2 separate regions of the Homo sapiens genome follow, and region 2 is linked to region 1. Evidence: promoter capture Hi-C in human tissues and cell types (Jung and others, 2019). All regions are on one chromosome and are shown on one strand. The core of a region is centred on a gene start or on the middle of the fragment in contact, and the rest is flanking DNA. Distances in the headings are between cores, read along the strand shown.

The links. Contacts are between HindIII fragments. The study calls those that stand out against the background at their distance.
Region 2: a contact is called between the fragment with the promoter of ESRP2 here and the fragment with the promoter of CES2 in region 1, in 1 of the 25 tissues and cell types used here (spleen).

Annotation. Positions count from the first base shown.
Region 1 is chr16:66,933,996-66,937,287 of GRCh38, reverse strand. It overlaps CES2 (carboxylesterase 2), which reads right to left and starts at 1,772. Exons shown (of 12, transcript NM_001365405.1): 1 at 1,577-1,772. The coding sequence starts at 1,652. It overlaps CIAO2B (cytosolic iron-sulfur assembly component 2B), which reads left to right and starts at 2,886. Exons shown (of 5, transcript NM_016062.4): 1 at 2,886-3,065; 2 at 3,222-3,292. The coding sequence starts at 2,924. RefSeq lists enhancers at 1,550-2,162, 3,001-3,200, 3,231-3,280. The HindIII fragment of the contact is 13,939 bases long and covers 1-3,292 here.
Region 2 is chr16:68,234,444-68,237,735 of GRCh38, reverse strand. ESRP2 (epithelial splicing regulatory protein 2) reads left to right here and starts at 1,609. Exons shown (of 15, transcript NM_024939.3): 1 at 1,609-1,888; 2 at 1,974-2,102. The coding sequence starts at 1,691. RefSeq lists silencers at 1, 32-121, 1,432-1,661 and enhancers at 1-233, 234-821, 822-1,410. The HindIII fragment of the contact is 21,026 bases long and covers 1-3,292 here.

The DNA of each region.
Region 1 (3,292 bases), core at 523-3,022:
CTGGTTGGGTAAAAAGAGGATGGCACACATCACCTGTACCCTCCTATGGCTTGTCAATTATTTTTTCTGAATGTGGGTCCAACCCAAAATTTTGTATACATATATATTTGTCAGACAAGGTCGCCATCTGTTGCCCAGGCTGGAATGCAGTAATATGATAACAGCTCACTGCAGCCTCCACCTCCTGGGCTTGAGATCCTCCCGCCACAGCCTCCTGAGTAGCTTGGAGTACAGCTGTCTGCCACCATGCTTGACTTTTTTTTTTTTTTTTTTTGGTAGAGACAAGTCTTGTTGCCCAAGCTGGTCTCTAACTCCTAGCCTCAAGTGATCCTCCCATCTCTGCCTCTCAAAGTGCTGGGATAACAGGTGTGAGCCACTGTGCCTGGCCCAAAATATTTTAAAAGGTAGCCATCTGTGAGGCCAGGCAGATCTTCCTGCTGGGCTCCTGGTGAACTCTAGAATGTGGTCAAGGGCAGGCACGGGAGGAAGCCCTGCAGCAGTGCACCATGGGGCGGGGGGAGTATGGACTCCACCTGCGCAAATTAAATTGGGGAAGGGTTGGAAGAGACAGATCATACACTTAGGAGAGTTTCGGGTGAGAGGACCAAAGGCCGAAACACTCCCCCAGCTTCTGATAAGGGCCTGGAGAAGCCTGGCAGGCACACAGAGCCTTCACCTTTGCCCTGGAAGCCAAGTTGTGCCCTTGCCCAGGATGAGGTAAATGGCATGAGGGACACCACGAGCTCTTTGGTTCTTGTTTCTGGAGACAGATTTTTGCTTTTTCACCCAGGCTGGAGTGCAGTAGTGGGATGAAGGCTCACTGCAGCCTCAACCTCCCCTACTAAAGTGATCTCCCACCTCAGCCTCCCAAGTAGCTGGGACTACAGGTCACAGACCACCACAGCCCACTAATTTCTTTCAATTTTTTGTACACTCCGAGTCTCACTATGTTGTCCAGGCTGGCCTCCAACTCCTGGGCACAAGCGATACTCTCCCTTGGCCTTCTAAAGTGGTGGGATTAAAGGAGTGAGCCAATCGCACCCAGCCACTGTGGCCTCTTAGATCTGCTTTAGGATTTGGCGCCTGGGGGCTTCTGTTCCCCAAGGACCACTATCCTTGTCTGAGGCCCCTTTGGAGGGCTCAGGGCATCCCCCCTGGCCAAGGACGCCACACACTGAGAGCCAGATGCTGCCAGAAGCTATTACTGTTATTACCGGCCGGCAGCACCCGCTACAGCCACAATCATAAGAGGGAAATGGACTGAATCCCCACACCCCAATCCCTCACCCACTCCGACCCCAGGCTGCCTACCCGGCCTGGCATGTCCCGGCGCTCCTGGGGCCCCTGTACTCCGCTGGTTCCTTGCCGTGGTGTCCCCCAGCCCGACCCTTTCTGTGCTTCTAGGAGCCCACCTTGGGCGGCGGGGAGGCGTTGCGTGGGGCTCACGAGTTCCACGCTGTCATCTCCACCAGCTCCTACCTCCCAGGCGCCTGCCCTCCCGCACTGTCAGGTTCTGCCTCCGCAGCATTTGGCAGATCTGAGCCCGGTCCCTGTCGCCCCTCCGAGGGAGCCTCACCCTGGCCCCGGACAAGAAGCAGCAGAAGCCCACAGGCCACCGCGCTCAGCCGCGCACGAAGTCTGTGCAGCCGCATGGTCGGCTCGCTGGTCTCGGTTCGCTGCCGGCGGACACGCTGCTGTTCACCCAGAGGCTGCCCCGGGTCTGTCCAGCAGTGGATCAGTGCCTTGCCCAGCCTTGGAGTTTGGACTGGGCAGGGAGTCAGCGGGGTGCGCTGGCTTGGGCCGGGAAAGGTGGGTGTGGTAGGAGAGCGGGACTGAGCAGTCATAGGTGGGTGGGGATCTAGTGGTAGGCAGGCCCGGGCACGGCCACTTTCCTTTGCCCGGGCTCCTTTGGCATCCTCGGAAGGGGCTGTGCCATTCCTGCAGCCCTTCCGCGATCCAGGGAATCCTCTCTTCAAACCTGTCCTTGTCCACAGGCCCGATGAGCGCGCTGGGGGATCGATAGGAGGGGGCAATAAACTAGAATTGGAGACCCCAGGAGGGCTTCTCTGAGGATGTGCACGTTCAGGATCCCCCAGATGGAGAAATGGGAAGGAACTTGATCGGGGTGAAGGAACCGCTTGAGCAAAGGCAGGAAGGAGTGTCGGCGCCCTTCATTCTGGAAGTTCCTCCTTGCTTTCAGGACTCAGTTTCCTGGGTTCCCCTTCACGGCCCCTCATCTCCTTACAGTCCAGGGTCTGAGGGTCTCCGCGGTCCCCTCCCTACTCAGTCACGCCATTCTTTTGAAACGTACACGTGACCGCGGCACTTCTTAAGGAGCGCCCCCCTTTTCCTCGGTGGCTTTCAGTTTCCTCACCTCCCGCGGAGACCACGGCCATGGTCATTTATCCACTTGACAAACATTTCACGAGCCCCTGCCGGTCCAAGCTGTGGGGACGCCGTACTCCCGGGCCTATGGTGCAGCAGGGGAGGCAGGCGCGTCACCGGGAGGTCCCGAGACACTAGGATCCCTGCCAGGCCAGAGGCGACCAACCGTCCTGGATACGGGAGCTCCCGGCCAGCCTGACTTCCAGGAGGAAGCGGTGTGGGGATTACCTCCGACCGCCTTTAGTGCCCCCTGAGACCTGGTTCTGGCCTCTACGTTTCAGCCCGCTACTGGCTCGCACGACCCAGCGCCGCCGTGGTCCCTTCTCAGCGCCTTCTGCTCCAGCGACCATCATGTTCCCGGGTCCGAGCAGCCAGGGCCGCGGTCACCGCTTCTCTCGCACCTCAGGCCGAGAACCCACAACGCGGCGTGTCCCTCGCGCGACTCCGTCGCCACGCCACGCCCCCTTCCCGTTCTCCGGAAGTGCGCGGGTTGGAGCGGAAGCGCACGCCTGCTAGGATCAGCGGTGGTGGTTCCGCGATGGTAGGCGGCGGCGGGGTCGGCGGCGGCCTCCTGGAGAATGCCAACCCCCTCATCTACCAGCGCTCTGGGGAGCGGCCTGTGACGGCAGGCGAGGAGGACGAGCAGGTTCCCGACAGCATCGACGCACGCGAGATCTTCGATATCCGCCGCTGCTGGGCGCGGGCGGGTTCCGGGGGCTTGCGGTGGGGGGAGCAGTGATATCGAGCAGCTGGTGGAGCCGCATCCCAGCAGGGCGTTCCTGGCAGAGGGTTCTAAGTGGGCAAGGGCGCAGAGTCCCTTTTCCTTCACTTCCCACATCTGATTCGCTCCATCAATGACCCGGAGCATCCACTGACGCTAGAGGAGTTGAACGTAGTAGAGCAGGTG
Region 2 (3,292 bases), core at 360-2,859, 1.3 Mb before region 1:
GAACAAATATTTGACATTCCAGGCTTATCGGGAGGAGGGGCCCGAGGAGCAACGTTCTCCCTTCCCCCGCGCCTGATTCGCTTACCGCTTCCGGGGGAGGAGACGCATGGGCCAGTGCCCGGGTGGGCGGTCCGGAGATGGACAGCCGCGCACCAAGGCCCGCCTCCACCTGTAGGGAAAGTAAAGTGCTACTCGCTCGAACCCGCCGGGCGAAGGAAGCACTTCCCATGCTCTCCCTGTCGCCGTGTCCGGGCGCGAGTCATTTCCGTCCCGGGCGCCTGTTTCTTTAGCTGCCAAGTGGAGCTACGCTGAGCTCTCTCCCCCCGGGCCTCGCCCCTTTCCCGGGCATGAGCTCTGGTGATGCGCCCGGGTGCCCCGCTCTCTCCATTGTCCAGGGGCCGGGCCGCAGCACCCTCCTTGTCCGAAAGCGCGTGGTGCGGCTCCCGTCTCAGTCTCGAGTCGGGCTAGGCAACCGCGTGACTCAGTTCCCGCCACGCTGGAGCCCCCTCCTTCCTGCTGGATTATTCAGTTTCTCAGTCACTTATTCAGTTTCTCAGTCACCTCCCTGGGAGAGTTTGGGAAAGTAAGGAACGGCCGGGAAACGCGCCATAAAGGAGCCTCACCAAGCTCCACTGGGCAAAGGGAGGAATGGGAGCCCCAAATGCGGGGCTGTCAATTGGGTTGTAGGTGCGGGATGGAAAAGGGAGGATCTGCAGCCCGCATGCGCGCACACACGCTCAACGCTAGCCCCCCATCGGCCAGAGCGCTCGCAATCTCCAGGCAGCTTCTCCACCGTCCAGAAAGGGACGAAAGCAGGCAGGCCCCCACACGTGGGGTAGGAGTGAGGCTCCAGGCCCGTTCTACCCCTCTCAGCCTCGTCTAGGGTGCAGCTCTCTGCGATTTGGGGGGTTCCTTTCCCCAGCATTGAGGCCTGCCCACTCCCAACCCACAACGACCGCGCTCTGGCACTTCTCAGTGCCAGGCTAGCGCTCGGCCCTAGCATCTGCGTGGACAAGCCCTTCCCTGTGATCCCTGGTGACCACCCCACAGCTCTAACAACGCTGATGTTCCCGCCGCCCTCCCCTTTCCCAGGTGACTTCTGGTGATCCCCCTACAGGGTGATACCCGGCAACTCTCACCGCCCCCTTGACCCTTTGACTTCCATCAACCCCAGACCTGCCGTGTTGACCCCCACAGCCCCTAGACTGCCTCCTGGTGACTTCCATACTGGAGAAGGCCTCTGTCTTGCACGCTCCTTTGCAGAGGCCTGACGACCCCTGGGGAAGAGTGGGGGGAGAGCGGAAGAATGGGTTAGCCCCCAAAATCAGGCAGGACCAGCCCTGGAAGTAGGAATCCGGATCCTAAGCGTGCGCCCAGGCCGGGAGCGTGAGCTCTTGCGTCCTGGGTTGAGTTCTGGCGGCCCTCCCCCAAGGTTCCCGGAGCCGCCCCGGTCACGTGGCCGGCGGGGCCGGCAGGTAACTCGCCTGGAGAGGGCGTGGGCCGGTAGCCGCCCCGCCCCGCGGGGCGCCACGGGCGGGTCTTGGCAGCGCCCACTGAGCCAGCCGGGCCGCAGGTGCCGCCCCCGATACACGGTGTCCCGCCCAAGCTGATCCGCGTCTGCGGTCGGTCGGTGCGTGCGTGCGCCTCGTCGGTCCGCGTGTCTGGCCGAGAGCCCCCTTCCTCTGCGGCCATGACTCCGCCGCCGCCGCCGCCCCCTCCCCCGGGCCCTGACCCCGCGGCCGACCCCGCCGCGGACCCCTGCCCCTGGCCCGGATCACTGGTCGTCCTCTTCGGGGCTACGGCGGGTGCGCTGGGACGGGACCTGGGCTCGGACGAGACCGACTTAATCCTCCTAGTTTGGCAAGTGGTTGAGCCGCGGAGCCGCCAGGTAGGGTGGAAAAGAGGCGGTGAGGTCCCCAGGGAGCTTCCGGGGTCGAGGGGCGCGGCTGATCGGTTTCCCCCGCCGCTCACAGGTGGGGACGCTGCACAAATCGCTGGTTCGTGCCGAGGCGGCCGCACTGAGTACGCAGTGCCGCGAGGCGAGCGGCCTGAGCGCCGACAGCCTGGCGCGGGCAGAGCCGCTGGACAAGGTGCTGCAGCAGGTGAGCGCCGGGGTGGGTGGCGGCATGGCCTGGACGTGAGGACATTTCTGGGCGGGATTGGCGGCCGGAGGCTAGGCCTGGCGTGCCGCAACCAACCGGTCCAGGCGGCAGGACTGGGCTCTTGTTTGAAACTTTGAGCGACTCTCGCGTGTGCGTGCCCCTTTCATCCGCGCGTGCCAGCCATTCCCCTGGGCTCCTTACTTTTCAACCATTGCAGGAACCTACTCCTACCGAAGGGATCGGGACGCAGGCTTTGGGATCCATCCCCAGTTCCCGCCCGGGGAGCGAGGCCGAGACGCCTTTGGGAGACCTGCTGGGTCAGGTCTCCCTGAGCCGCAGCCGGAAGCGAAAGGGGTCGAGGGGCCCATATAGGTCACCTGTCCTTGCGGCCCGCGTCTTCGGCCTGCTTGGGAGCTGCTGGAGCGGAGGCGTAGGGCGGTGTCGGCCCTAGAGGTAGACGCCGCCAGGTGTAAACTGCTCGTCTAGGCCTGTCCCGGCCGGCTGGCCAGGCGTGGGCGCTGTCCCGGCCTGGCCTGGGGGACTATCTGCCTGCTGAGTGCAAAGGCCTGGGGTGCCTCCTGCCCTAGCTGAAGTGGGAGGTGGTTTCCATTGCTGTTTTCTTTTCCTTATCTTCACTACGGCGCTCATTCTATGTCTGACTCTTGAGTGTAATTAGTGTAAGTCCTTTTTATACACTCACGTTCTTTCATCTTCCAACAACTCTTGTGGTTCCTGATGAGGAGGCACCACGATGATGATTCCTTGTCTGTTCCAGAAGGGCTCCCGGCCCTTCACTTGGGGAGTTTGCTGGAGGAGAGCTGGGTTGCCTTGCTCTGTCAGCCCCAAGTTGTAAAGTGTCACAGAATTGGCAGGGAGGGTTCGTGGGTCACTGATTAGTGTTTATACTTCTCCAGCAAGGATGGAGGCTGGGGGAGGGCTGGGCAGCCTCAGGAGTGCCACCCCCTCTATGAGCAAACAGCTCAGTGCCAGCCGGTCAATAGGATGTGGGTCAAAGCTCATGCTGCCCCTGATGTCCAAGTGTGGAGCTCTGTCCTTGGAGTTTCTCTGCCCCTCGGTTGGTCAGACCTGGAGGCGGGGCTGCCATTGACCATGAGCCTTCTGGGCCTCAGGCAGGCCTGGGCCTCCCCCACCTGTCTGAGGGTGGTACCCGGTCAAAGACAGGTTTAACC